Regions from separate parts of the Homo sapiens genome. Here region 1 is linked to region 2. The links are contacts of gene promoters, found by promoter capture Hi-C in blood cells and fetal thymus (Javierre and others, 2016). All regions are on one chromosome and are shown on one strand. The core of a region is centred on a gene start or on the middle of the fragment in contact, and the rest is flanking DNA. Distances in the headings are between cores, read along the strand shown.

The links. Contacts are between HindIII fragments. The CHiCAGO score rates a contact against its expected background, and 5 or more counts as called.
Region 1: a fragment that was not itself captured here is called in contact with the fragment with the promoter of TOM1L1 in region 2 in 1 of 17 cell types (endothelial precursors); the score reaches 5.3 in endothelial precursors.

Annotation. Positions count from the first base shown.
Region 1 is chr17:52,165,216-52,172,769 of GRCh38, forward strand. No RefSeq gene overlaps it. Among named protein-coding and RNA genes, the nearest start is that of CA10, 10 kb to the left of the region's middle. The HindIII fragment of the contact is 3,429 bases long and covers 3,819-7,247 here.
Region 2 is chr17:54,899,563-54,906,473 of GRCh38, forward strand. TOM1L1 (target of myb1 like 1 membrane trafficking protein) reads left to right here and starts at 1,290. Exons shown (of 16, transcript NM_005486.3): 1 at 1,290-1,361; 2 at 4,146-4,230; 3 at 5,927-6,005. The coding sequence starts at 1,304. It overlaps LOC124904033 (a long non-coding RNA gene), which reads right to left and starts at 1,175. Exons shown (of 2, transcript XR_007065854.1): 1 at 1-1,175. RefSeq lists a silencer at 965-1,304 and enhancers at 1,385-1,494, 1,515-1,604. The HindIII fragment of the contact is 6,286 bases long and covers 1-1,832 here.

The DNA of each region.
Region 1 (7,554 bases), core at 4,283-6,782, 2.7 Mb before region 2:
AAAGCTGAATACTGTGATTGGGTTGTGGGCTGTGAGCTAGTCAGGGAAGAAGGCTTTATAAGACAGAAATGTACACTGAAGTGACCTAATAAAATTGGCAATGTAACTCTGATCTGAGAGTAATCACATCTGGTAACCAGTGACAAGTTAGCCTCAATGTTATTCCTTTCTACCAGCTCTTCAGATAACTATTTATAAACATTGTAACTTATTTTGGAAAAATTCCCTGCAAACGCATGGACTAAAATGATGAGGGGAATTGCCAGAGTTCTGAAACCAATGTGGAGATGGTAGGAGAAGCGGAAACAAACCTTGGTGGTACCTCAAATCATGGAGTAGAATGGACAGCGACACAAAGGGCAGACCTGTGGCAGAACAGAGGTGGGGGATGGTGAAGACACTGGTGATAACAGGGATTATGAACAGATGAATCAACCCCGAAGGGACTCCCCAAGAGTTAGTAGGGATTCCAAACTACCTATCTGACAAGGAATTAATAACCAAAATATATAAGGAGTTCAAACAACTCAATGGAAAAAAATTTAATAATCTGATTTCAAAATGGGCATAAGATCTGAATAGATATTTCTTTAAAGAAGACATACCAGTGGCAAATGGCTATATGAGAAGATGTTCAATATCATTGTTCATCAGAGAAATGCAAATCAAAATTACAATGAGATGTCATCTCATCCCAGTTAAATGGCTTTTATCCAAAAGACAGGCAATAATGAATACTGGTGGGGATATGGAGAAAAGAGAACTTCATATCCTGTTGTTTGGAATGTAAATTGGTATAATAACTATGGAGAACAGTTTGGCGATTCCTCAAAAAATTACCATATTTTTTTTTTAGTTATGCAAGTGATTGCCATTGAAAGTAATGGCAAAACTGCAATTACTTTTGCACTGACCTAACTAGAATCCAGCAATCCCACCCTTAAGGTAATACACCCAAAAGAAAGAAAATCAGTATATAGAAGAGATATCTGCACTCCCATGTTTATAGCAACACTATTTACCATACTGAAGATTTGGAAGCAACCTAAAGGTTCATTAACATAAGAATGGATAAAGAAAGTGTGGTACATATATACAGTAAGTACTATTCAACCATAAAACATATGATAGCTTGTCATTTGACATAACATGGATAAAATCATAGGGTTTTTTTAAATGAAATAAGCCAGCACAGAAAGACAAATGTTAAATGTTCTCACTAATTTGTGGGAGCTAAAAAAGAAAACAATTGAACTTATGAAGATAGAGAGTAGAATGATAGTTGCTAGAGGCTGGGAAGGGCAGTGGGGATGGTTAATGGGCACAAAAATATAATTAGATAGAATAAATAAGATCTAATATTTGATAGCATAGCAGAGTGATTACAGTCAATAATAATTTATTGTACATTTAAAAATAACTTAAAAAGTATAATTGGAGTGTTTGTAAATGATAAATGCTTGAGGTAATGGGTACCCTATGCCCCATTTACTCTGATGTGAGTTTTACACATTGCATGCCTTTGTCAAAATACCTCATGTACTCTTTAAATATATAGACCCATTACATATCCATAAACACTAAAAATAAAAAAATTAAAAGATATTCAGTGTAGACGAAGGTCAGGTGGAAATAAAAACACTGAAGAAAGTGTATGACCATTATATTTTTAAAAAAATTAATAGGGAAATAAGAACTTCAAAAGGAGGACTAGTAATCTGCTATCCAGTGTGAAGATTGGGGCTGTCAAGCTGTGTATTAGCTTCTTATATCTGCTGCAATAAATTATTACATACTTAGTAAAATAACAAAAATGCATTTATTTATTTATTATATATTTATTTGTACTTAAATTTACTGGTTTATCATAAAACATACCAATGAAGCGGTAGATAGGACAAGGTCCAGAAGGGCCCTGAGCCCAGGAGCTTCTCCCATGGAGTTAGGATGTGCCACACTCTCAGCACATGGATGCATTCGCCAACCATAAGGCTCTAAAACAAAAAAATGTATCTTTGACTTCTGAAGGTCAGAAATCTGAAACAAATCGGCAGGGCAGATTCTTTGTGGTGGCTTTCAGGGAGAACATTTTTCCTGCCTTTGCTGTCTTCTAGATACTGTTTATGTTCCTTGGCTCATGGCTGTCTTCCAGAAATGATTTTACTCTACTTTCTGCTTTCATCCTCACCTCTTCTCCTCTGAGTTTCTCTTTTCCTTATAAGGATTCTTATGACTACATTGAACCCAACTGGATATTTCAAAATAGTCTCCATCACAAGAACCTTAATTTAATAACATCTGTCAAATCTTTTTTGCCATGTAAAGTAACACATTCTCATGCTCCAGGGATTAGGATGTTAACATCTTTAGGAGGTCATTATTCTACCTATCACAAGCAGATTGATTTGGGTCACATGAAGAGTGCCAAGTGTAGATCAATGGAGCTTCTCATAAAGTAATTGAAAAAAAAAGCTGCCACTTTTTAATCTATACAGTAATGTACCTTACATTTTTCAATAGTGAGTTCATGTGAGTTATTTGAGGAATTGGTATGAGACCTTGTTCTCTATAAATGAGTCTATCAAGAGGAAATGTTAAGGTATTTGAGTGGATACAGTTCATTTCTCTGGACAAAGAATGTGAGGATGCTGAAATGACACATACCACTAGGAGAATAGATTATTTACCTCTCTTTGATATCGGAATAGATAATAGTTTAATTACCACCAGTGCTCATTATATTTTCAAAATAGGCTTTCTTCTCACCCATACTATAATTTGTGTCCAACGTCAAAGAATTAAAATGCTATACCTTATTTACTATTTATATTTTGGCAGATGGATAAAGAATTTGATGAAATAGTTCACATTAAGATTGTGGCACTTGGGCTAAGGCTTTGGGCATCATTTTGAAAGTTAGTGAAACTCATGTTACACTTTTCTCCTTTTTATTGAATTTCTCTCATATATCCAGTCTCCTTAACTCAAGATCTTAAAAATGGAAGACTTATTTGCAATGAGTACATAGCAGGCATTCTGTAAAAGATTGCTGAAAAATTGAATAGGTTTGTTTATTTGTTTATTCAAATAAATCCACTTTTCTTCCATTTTTTGTAATGAATTTGATGATAAATGTTTCCTAATACATTGTAAGTGCACATTAATATACTTTCAGTCCTAATGTAGTCCAACCCCCTTATTTTTTATGTGGGAAGATGGAGGCTTAAGATTAGGTCAAGTGATGTGTCCGAGTTCAACAAAGGCAAAAGCAGGGGCAGGGCCAGAATTTCAGCCTTCCTAGTTAATTATTAGTTTTTATAAACCTTCCATTCCCATCATTATTTCTTTTGTGACCAAGTAACACAGTGCAACAGCTGAAACATAGATGGCAAATGTATTAGCCAAAACCAGGCATTTTAGTGGGAGACATTTTTCTTAGATTGTCTCTTTCTGTCCAATGCACTTTCAACTCTACCTGACCATTTGTGTGTGTGTATGTGTGCGGGTGTGATGGGGTGGTGTGTGTTTATTTTACATTAAGCAATTTCCAGTGAAGTTTTATACCAACAGGAATGCTTCGCTCTTCTCTGTGAGCCAACTGCCCTATCGGGTAGCAGTTATAGATCAGTATAGAATATTTTAGTTTCATAATGGTTCTTAGGTATAAAGAAAGGCTTAAATTAGCACAACAGTCTGCTTTCACTACAGCTTGCATAATTTTGGAGTTAGCAACTGACACATTAGGTTTTAAAACTATTTGCTGAGATTATTTTTTTACATTGTCTTCCCAATGATTAGCATTAAAATTACAAGTTTTAAGCTTCATTTTGCACTTGAAAGACTCTTTGTAGTTCTCTACTCAGCAATGTCTACATGCTAGATTATAGAGTTATATGTCTCATTTATTTATTAGGAAAATTAACAAATAATGGGTGTGGCAGACATATCCACTATGAAAAGTCAGAGGTATGGGACAAGAGTCTTCCCTCCCCCAAGCCCATGGCCCCTTCCCCTTCTCTTTCTGCTCCTGGCCACTGCTTCCATGGTCAAGTGATTCATGTAGGGTCTTTCATGTTTGTATGAGATATCTCAGGATCAAGTGCCTTAAGACCATGCTTTTACACACATCTCCTTAAAGGGCCATTCTTTGACCACAGGTTCAGTCCTGGGTATGCACTCACCAGCATTGCAGCCTACTTTTGGGGAAAGAGATCCTCCCAGCCCCACCCAACCACCACAAACACACACCTTAACAGTATTAAACATCAAATCCTTGGTGAAATAACATGCCACTTATTCAGAGCATTGAGGAAGTTCAGCAAGGGAGGAATACTGCAACTGGAGGGCTCTGAAAGGAATTCCATTTCCAAATCAACACAGAAGATAAGACCCTGCTACAGAGATCTAGTTAATTTTCTTCTCCTGCAAATGAGATTTCCTGAATTGTATCCAGCTTCAACAACAGATTTTTTTTTCTCATTGGTTCTATTGTGTGGATGTAATAAAGTAAGAGTTGAGTTACCATAGCAGAAAACCCTCAAATTTCTGAATCCGTTCTCTGATTGCTACTAGATAGAGAAGAAAACTAACGAAAACAAAAAGAGCCTCCTGCCCAGCAGGACAGGAGATATTGTGAGTAGCCATAATTTTATGATGGAGTTAACAACAATTGAGATCAAAGGTTGAAAGAGTAGAGTTTTTCCTACAAAAATATAAACATGCCATTGTCAGGTATTGAAAAATATCAAGGTTGTTGTAAATGTCACATAAACATATGACTAAGTAATGGTTCTTATCTCATTAGTTCAAATGCTTTCCTTAATGAATCTTTTGAGACTTGTATGAGTTAATATTACATATAAGATGATATTCCATTTTCATGTTCCATAAATTATTATTTCTTTAGGAAAATAGATTTTTAAATGAATGTGAATGAAATCTTAAATATATTTTAAATGATCAACTATTAAAGTAAAAACTTATATTGTTTTCATCTGTGTTCGCCCAACTTTTCTTATGATAAAATAGCAATTTCTGGTGGCTGTTTCTCATTTTCCTTCCCATGAAATGGGAAACAGACTGGCAACCTGCCCTTTATACTTCAGTCAATTTTTGCTGGAAATAAAATGAGCAGAATAAGCTCTATTTTCTCCTCTTGCATAAGTACATTTCAGATGAAGATGGTAGTAATTTTGGAGATGTTGCCATAATAATGTTTGAGTTATTGGATTCAGCTCAACCAATAATCACTTGAGTTAGCTTGTTGGAAAGTTCTCAATAAACAAAGATAAATAATAGGGCTTTCTATCAAGTAGAAAGTGGGCGCTACTCTAAAATTCTTCTCATTTACCATTAGACGTTTTATAAGATTTTCAAAGAAAAATTGATTTTAATATACTCTAATTACAACGGCTCTTAAGGAGGTGTAGGGGGCCTGGGCATAGTGGCTGATGCCTGCAATCCCAGAGTTTCAAGAGGCTGATGGGGGAGGATCACTTGAGACCAGGAGTTCAAGACCAGCCTGGGCAACATAGTGAGACCTCATTTCTACAAAAATGAAAATAAAAAAATTAGCCAGGTACCATGGTATGTAACTGTGTTCCAGCTACTCAAGAGGCTGAGGTGGGGGGGTTGCTTGAGCCCAGGAGTTTGAGATCACAGCGAGCTGATTGTATCACTACACTCCAGCCTGGGTGACACAGCAAGACCCTGTCTCTAAAATAAAATAAAATAAAAATAAAAAATAAATTTACAAATGAGGTATAGGGGATGAAAGTGTCACAAAATCAAATGGTAAAAAGTTTGAATAAGGGTCATTGGTATAAGGAATAGAGTCTCTATTGGTTCAGGGACTGATTTTATCCAAACAGTTTGGCAGCTGAGCTCTATCAGGATAGCCTCTTTTCACCTCCTGTCTACCAGCTGTCTATTTGCAACCAGCAGGGTGCAACCTTGAGTCAGGCTGGAGATGCTTTGTCCATATGGAAAAGCAATGGCCAAATTTAAAATAAAGGTACCTAGGGGTAAGGGAACTTAAGAATCTCAATCTAACCATTCACACTGAGGGGAAGACATTTCGGGCTACTCTGGTGGAAACCCAAACTAGATAATGCAGATCCAAAAAACCAAGCAGAGCCCTTCCAGGAACACAAACAAGTTATTTTTCAGAGAGAATTTAAAGTAGAGAATTGGTTGAACAGGAACACAAACAACAAGTTATTTTTCAGAGAGAATTTAAAGTAGAGAATTGGTTGAACAGGCATTGGAGGACTAAAAAGCCACCATGAAACACCAAGTTAATGCAGAGAGAATAACTCTAGGAAACAGCTACCACCATTATAACCAGGGAGACAACATAAACAGATTAGGATGATCAGAACCAAGAAGCCTGGAGGAGGGGTCCCTGATGATCTAGGAACTGTACCTCGCAAGAGAGGGTGCATCCCATTGGACTGGCATCTTAGAGCTCAGAGGAGGAGCTGTAACTCAGACCTCTGAGTACAGCCTCCCTCTCAGCTGACACTGAAACCTAGTGGAAGCTGGTTCTGAGACTTTTGGAAGAAACTGGAAAGTGGAAGCAACTGCTTGCTGAAGTGAAGAGCTGTTGCTGGGAGATAATTGCAAAACCAGTATGGAAAACTGAATGAATCAAGTCCTTTCTTTGCACCTCTTGTTTTCTAGGCTCCCTCTAGCACTCCCTGTTGGCAAAAACCTAATAGGGAGCAAATTGACAAAAGAGAAATGTGCTTGGTGGAGATCCAGCAATAGCATCACAGAGTATGGAGGGACTGGGAATGAAAAGAGGTTAGGCCTGGTGTGGTGGCTCACACCTGTGATCCCAGCACTTTGGGAGGCCGAGGCGGGCAGATCACCTGAGGTCAGGAGTTCAAGATCAGCCTGGCCAACATGGTGAAACCCCGTCTTTACTAAAAATACAAAAAAATTAGGTGGGCATCGTGGTGTGCACCTGTAATCCCAGTTACTTGTGGGGGCTGAGGCAGGAGAATCGCTTGAACCTGGGAGGTGGGGGTTGCAGTGAGCTGAGATCATGCCACTGCACTCCAGCCTGGGAAACAAGAATGAAACTCCTTCTCAAAAAAAAAAAAAGATTATAGGTTAATAACTGTCACACCCATTAATTCCGACCAAGACAAGACTTGAGTGACAGAAAAATTAGCCTCTAATGTTGTAGAGCTACATCGGCTGTTATAGTGCAGGGTTTTCAGGATGAAGTTTTGCTCCTCAGAAGCTTTTCACTGTGCTTGATATTGAACCAGTGCACTTCTCTCTCATTCAATAGCAGTTCTGATATCTAACCCACAATTTCATATGTATTTGGCTTTCCAAAAATCTGCTTTTGAGCTAAGCTCTTGCTACCTTATGAAACTAAGCAGCCTACCCCACAGCCTCTTTTCTACCTTCAAATTTGTCATTCCACAGCTTTGGCTTGCTGTCATCACAGTAAATGGCTGAGCCTTCCTTACAATCACAGTGGGGACTAGCCCCCAAATAGCTGATCACACCAAGGATGTTGCCTCACTTCCATGTCCCTAG
Region 2 (6,911 bases), core at 40-2,539:
TTATAAATAATTGAGTTACAGATAATTAAATGTTAGCCTCCTGGAGTGCATGGCAATTGGTTTTGACCTCTATATTAAAATTCACAAGACCACGGACATAAGTCAAAACAGGTCCCCTTCGTCTCCCTAGTCACCATCTCCAGGGCTAAAAAACAGACTTGAAATGGGTGGCAGTTAGACTACAGGAAACAGGATCTACAAGCACCAGGAGCTCATCTATGGCTATCTGACATCGCCTGGGGACACCTCACTCTCTGGCAGGCTCCTGCTGGCTGGAGATTGTTAACATCGCCAATCAGATGTTAATTGAATGCAAAGGAATAGGAAATAAATTCTGGTTCTGAAGGGGCAGCTGGAAAGGTGTTGGGCTTCTCAGATTCCAACCTACATTACAAAGCAGGCCTAAAGCCAAGCATACTCCTTGCCAGAAGAAACGGAAAGCCCCTCTCCCGTTTTTAGAATCAGGCTGGAAAACACGGCTCCCAGAAGGTGGGGTTAGAAAACAAGAGCTTGCGAGGCGGCGCCCTGTGGTCCCTCGAGGAAATAGTAGAGAGACAAAGAGGGCCTGCTCCTGGGAAGCCCTAAATTCGAAGCCAATCCTTCCTCCTAGACATGACCACAACTTTAAAGGGCAGGGCGCACACCTCCCCTCCCGGATCTCTAGGACAAAGGCAGGTCGAGGGTAAATATTTCTAGTTATTCAGTATATTCAGTGGCTAACTATTTATTTTGTGGGTACCAGACACCGACATAATCGGTTACGTCCTTCCCTTAATTCTCATAATTCTGAGGTTTGTGTTATTAACCCCCTATTATCTTTGGTCTACCCAGGGCAGCCAAAGAGGCGCAGAGAAGAATGACAAGGTGCCCAGCAAGCGGCAGGATCAAAGCCTGGGTCTCTAATTCCCAGGCTGGAGATTCTGGGCTGCCTGCTCCTCCTGCACGGGGCGAAAAGCCCACCTGGGATCCGAGCGGGCGGCCGCGCCACTCTCGCAGGCTCCATACACCCGCCACTACCCGCCTGTACCACCTGCAGCCGGCAGCGCAGCCTCCTCGCGGGTCCCGCAGGGCGCGCTGCAGGTGCGCTGGGCGTCCCGAAGCCCCGCCCTCGCGTCCCTGCCCCGCGCCCAGCTCCTCACGCTCGGTGCCCGCGCCCCGCAGCGGCAGCGCAGAACGCACCGCCTCTGCCAGAGCCCGGGAAGCGCTCGGGCGAAGAGGAGGAGCCAAGGGTACCGAGCGGGTGGAGTCGGGAGCCGGAGAGCGGTGGAGGCGGATTTCCTGGGCCCGGCCCTCTGGCGCTACCATGGCGTTTGGCAAGAGTCACCGGGATCCCTACGCGACCTCCGTGGGCCACCTCATAGGTAAGGAGGCGCGGGGAGAGACGCCCAGGCAGGCAGGGGACCGTGGGATCCTTTCCTGCTTGATCCATTCTCGGCCTGCAGAGGACGGAGTTAGTCCAACTTGAAAAAATTATTCCCCTCCCCCCGCAACTTTCCCAAGGCACCCGCATTCCACCCGGCCCCCTTTCGTCGTTTCCTTCTTGGCCAACTCACTGTAGAACCTCAGTCCTCAAAAATGTACCTTCCTTTCGATGCCGCCTGGGGAGTGGAACCAAACAGGTGAACCGCGGGAGTCAGGCATGGAGTGTTTGGGCCTCCACGAGGAGACACCAGAAACTTCTCGGTAGGGGAAGTTATTCCTAAAGGCACATTCTCCAGGGCACGGTATTGTTATGCCCGTTTTACAGATCAGAAGAGGAGGCTCTGGGAGACTAAGTGATGTGGCCTTACTGTGAGGGGCAGGTCTCCCCAAACCAGTTTTCTCTAGTGCCAAGCTTATACAACCTGGATTACTTTTCTGGGTAAACAAAGAGAATGAAAATGCTTGGCATTGGAGTGAAGAGGAGGGGAACATAGGAGCCATCTGGGGCCACGGAGGTCTCTCGCAGGCCACTAGGGACTACACCAGCATCCACCTAAATGATTTCTCTCTCCTCCGGATGTACCTTGCATGATGTATGTAGAAGCCAGTGATTGGACTCCTACCAGCACCAGCTCACTGCTCCTTCTTTTCCCTGATTCCTCCCTTGGGAATTGGGTGTGGCACGAGTGCATATTAATGCCAGGCAAAGTGTGATGATGTCAGGAACTTAGTGGGGTGATGAAATCGTGAGAACCTAGTAGTTGTAGTAAAGAGGCCCAGATTTGGAAAATTTAGATCACAGCTCTACTAACTGCTGTGACACCGAACACACCACTTAAACAGAACCTTAGTTTACACATCCTTATAAGATGGTCAGAGTAGCTACCATTGAGGAGATGCTTTCCCTTAATGGCTGTGCTTTTTTGGATATTAGAATGAACCCCAAGCAGAAATGGATTCAGACTGTGTCTTCATAGGCAAACGAAACTTCAGCAGTTCTTCTGCTTAATTTTTTAATTCTGTAAACATGGACTAACTGTCAGCTATGTGCCTGGACCTGGATCAGGCACTGGTGAGGCCAAGGTGAGACGTGGTCTCAAACCTGAGGGAACTCACTTTCTTGTAGAGAAGACGGGCACAGTTTTGTGTGGCACCTTTGCAATGCAAGAAAATGCAAAACACACAAAACTTAGGAGAAGGGAGAAATGAATTCTGCGTGGCTTTTGAAGGGTGAATAGGAGTTTTCTTTTCTAGGGAGGTAAGCTTTGTCCATTCGGTGCCAGATTCAAGTTTTTTGTTGTTGTTGTTTTGTTTTTGTTTTTGTTTTTGTTTTGAGACGGGGAGTGACACCCAGGCTGGAGTGCAGTAGCTCTCGGCACACTGCAACCTCCGCCTACCGGGTTCAAGCACTTCTCCTTCCTCAGCCTCCCGAGTAGCTGGGACTACAGGCACATGCCACCACGCCAGGCTAATTTTTGTATTTTTAGTAGAGATGGAGTTTCACCATGCTGGCCAGGCTGGTCTCGACCTCCTGACCTCAGGTGATCTACCCACCTCGGCCTCCCAAAGTGATTGGGATTACAGGCGGGAGCCACCGGGCCCCGCCTCAAGTGGTTCTTTTCCTGGATTGAAAGCAAGCTAAACTTTGGGGTTCCCCCAAGCAAGTCCTTATTCTTCCCCTTCTCTATCTTTTTTGTTTTTTTCTCCATTTCCCCCAGAACCCGGTGTTTTCATGCTTAGGGATCTTGTCCTTCTCTTAGGAAGATGTTAGCGCATTCATACTGAGTGTTCCATTACCCTTTCCAGATAACATCTTGTATTCTTAAAGCGGCTGTCTGGAGAGGGAAAGATGCCTGATTATCTAATCATAGGGTTCCAAGTGCAGAAGCATTCTGGTCAGCCTGGTGCAGCTGTGGTTAGTTTAGATGCTTATTATTATTAGTTCGGATAGTTATCCAGCGCCAGTTTGAAATAATTAAGGCTGAAAGTAAAAGTGTATGCAATGGAAGTTTTTACATAGTTGAGGTAAGCAGTGTCTTTGCAAGTATTGGTTGAAGTTATAATAATTGGTAAAATTAGAAGGAATCGTGAGATTAAGATGATAGGACAATAAACGTATTACTTTTATTTGGAGTTGTGCCAATGTTTTGGCTCCTAAGAACAACGGATTACTTCTCTCCTTTAAAAGTTCTTTCCTCCTGTCCCCCCAGAGAATAAATTATTTTTAAAAACAAACAGTGGGACCAAACAACCTAGATTTGAATGCCAATTCTACTTCATACTGACTGTATAACTTTGGTAATTTCCTAACCTCTCTGAACTTCTATCTCATCATCTCTCACAGTGGGTTAAATGAAATTGCGTATGATAAAATACTTAGCACTATGCAGTTCACCTTCTAGGTAGCTGCTCACTAAGCCCTAGTTCCCTTCTCTGAAAGCCAGGCAGGCGGAGATTTAGCTGGCCTGGCCTGGGCCTGTGGCCAGCTGTTGTGCTTGAGGTCTTTATTAATAGGTCACTCATTACTGTTGCTGCAGCAGCACTCTGAACTTGGGTTCTGATTGATTCCTGAATTACTGAGAACTGTTCCAAAAAAAATCACTTTGCCCTTTGGCAATGTAAACTTAATGACACTTGCTGGTGCAGCCTAGGCAGATTATTTCAGGAATACCAGACATTTTTTATTCTGTTGTAGCTCAGACTCAACAGCTTTTTCTTGGCAGAAAAGGCTACATTTGCTGGAGTTCAGACTGAAGATTGGGGCCAGTTCATGCACATCTGTGACATAATTAACACTACCCAGGATGGGTGAGTACAGCATGGTTTCCATGTATTTGCCTCTGACAAGAAGCATCAGAACTACAGCACGTTTTCTCTTGCAAATATTTCGGTTTTGTTGTTGAAAGAGTGTTTTCATCATTCATTAGGCACCCTCTATCTTTTGAAGACTTGTCAGGTTGAAATATTGGGGCAGCTGCTTGCTTCAACATGTGGAGTATCCATAAATCCACTATAATTTTTCTCCTCTTGGCAGTTTCTTTAATAGTTTCAAATTTTGTCACTGTGAAGCTCAAATTCCTTCCTTCTAAAAGATTGAAAAAGGCCGGGCGCAGTGGCTCACGCCTGTAATCCCAGCACTTTGGGAGGCCGAGGCGGGCGGATCATGAGGTCGGGAGATGGAGACCATCCTGGCTAACACGTTGAAACCCCATCTCTACTAAAAAATACAAAAAAAATTAGCCAGGCATGGTGGCGGGTGCCTGTAGTACCAGCTACTTGGGAGGCTGAGGCAGGAGAATGGCGTGAGCCTGGGAGGTGGAGCTTGCAGTGAGCAGAGATCATGCCACTGCACTCCAGCCTGGGTAACAAAGCAAGACTCTATCTCAAAAAAAAAAAAAAAAAAAAAATTGAAAAAGAGAGATTGTGTCCTTCTTTAGGAATATCTCCAGCTCCCAGTGCCAGTATTTGATGAAACCATCAAATATTATCAAGAAGCTGGTTGACTCCCGGTGGTGACCTATTTCTGAGCAATTATTTCTAGTAACCAGGAAACAATCTAGCAGTCTTTTTTCCTCCCTGTCCCAGGACAATTTTTTTCCTTCTGAATGTCAACTCACCCATGTTTAAGCTGTATTCTTATAGCATGTGCTATCGTTTGTTCTTAAACTTCTTAAACTTTCGAGAATCGAAGTTATAAGAAAAAAGTCATTAAGAAGAGCAAACTGGTTTGCTTGTAGTCAATTACAAGTTATTCTAAGGAACACAATTCTGGTAATTTTCCTGGGCATATTAAAGTGATAACTGGCAGTAAAAGAGATTTAGTCTAGCTTATGTTGATAAAGAAAACATCAAACTTAATTATTGATTATAAATAAATGGAAAGCGCTTATGGTTAGTACTTTTAAGTGTGTATGGTTTTTTTCCTATAATCCTATTTACCATGTTTAGTTCCTCTGGGAACATTTTCATTGATAATACCAATTCATTGATAATACAAAAAGAGAATCTTAAAGTAAATTTGGACCCTTATAAACAGTCCTTTCTTTGTAACATAAAATTGTGGCGTATTGGCAGCTGACCTAGTTTGTTGTAATTCCTGTTACATCCCCTTGTCTATAGGGTGCTCAGGAAATACTAATAGTTTTAATAAAAATGGTAACATTCATTGTTTCGGAAGTTGCATTTCCTATAAGTTGGTTCTGTGCATTGATAGAGGGATACAGGAATGAGTGCATTTCATGGGTAGTACTTTCTAGGTAATAGTCTTGTACGAAAATATTTTATTTGATTCTCATAAGGGGTTAGGTGGTATTGTCTGCCTGTATGCGTGAAGAAATTTAGGTTCAAGAAGTTAAGTCATTCGCATAGGGTCCCACAGTAGAACCAAGGCCTTAGTTTTCTGCTCCTTAGCCATTCCTCTCTCCAAATGCATGTTGCTTTTCAGAGAGACTGCTTGTTTTCAGCAATGCCTAAATTGGTGATTTCAGTGTATTTATTGCTATAGGCCAAAAGATGCAGTGAAAGCTTTGAAGAAAAGGATTTCCAAAAACTACAATCATAAAGAAATCCAACTTACCTTGTCAGTAAGTACTTTAATTTTATAATTAAGACTCGAGGATTTCTCAAGCTATAGTTACATTTTTAATCCTGGGTAAAAAATAAGAAGCAAGTATTCTGAGAAAACTAATAGGTTAGCTAGGAGTTGTGTACAGTATGACTTAAAACTCTTCATTTATGAGAATTGCAGAATAAAGAAAGTTTAGTTGTTTATAATAGCATTTAATAGCATTTAATTTCATGGAAGGAGCTTGTTCCTGAAAAATCAATTTTTCTTGGTCAGGAGATAGGAATTAGTGGTTAACATGTATTACACATGGTGAACTGATCAAGAAGTTTGTGTAGTGGCTGGGTGTGGTGGCTCCTGCCTATAATCCTAGCACTTTGGGAGGCCGAGGTGGGATGATCGCTTGAGCCCAGGAGTTTGAGAACAGCCTGGGCAAGATGGTGAGAGCCCGTCTCTACAAAATGTTTAAAAATTAGCCAGATGTGGTGGCCTGCATCTGTAGTCCCAGCCACTTAGGAGGCTGAGGCAGGACAATCACTTGAGCCCAGGAATTCAAGATGGCAACGAGCTATGATCATGCCACTGCAACTCAGCCTGAGTGATAAAGAGAAACCTCAACTCTTAAAAAAAAAGTTTGTGGCTGGGTACGGTGGCTCACACCTGTAATCCCAGCACTTCGGGAGGCCGAGGCAGGTGGATCACCTGAGGTCAGAAGTTCGAGACCAGCCTGACCAATATGGTGAAACCCCGTCTCTACTAAAAATACAAAAAGTAGCAGGGCGTGGTGGCGTGTGCCTGTAGTCCCAGCTACTTGGGAGTCTGAGACAGGAGAATTGCCTGAACCTGGGAGGTGGAGATTGCGGTGAGTCGAGATCGCACCACTGTCCTCCAGTCCTCCAGCTTGAGCAACAGAGCAAGACTCCTT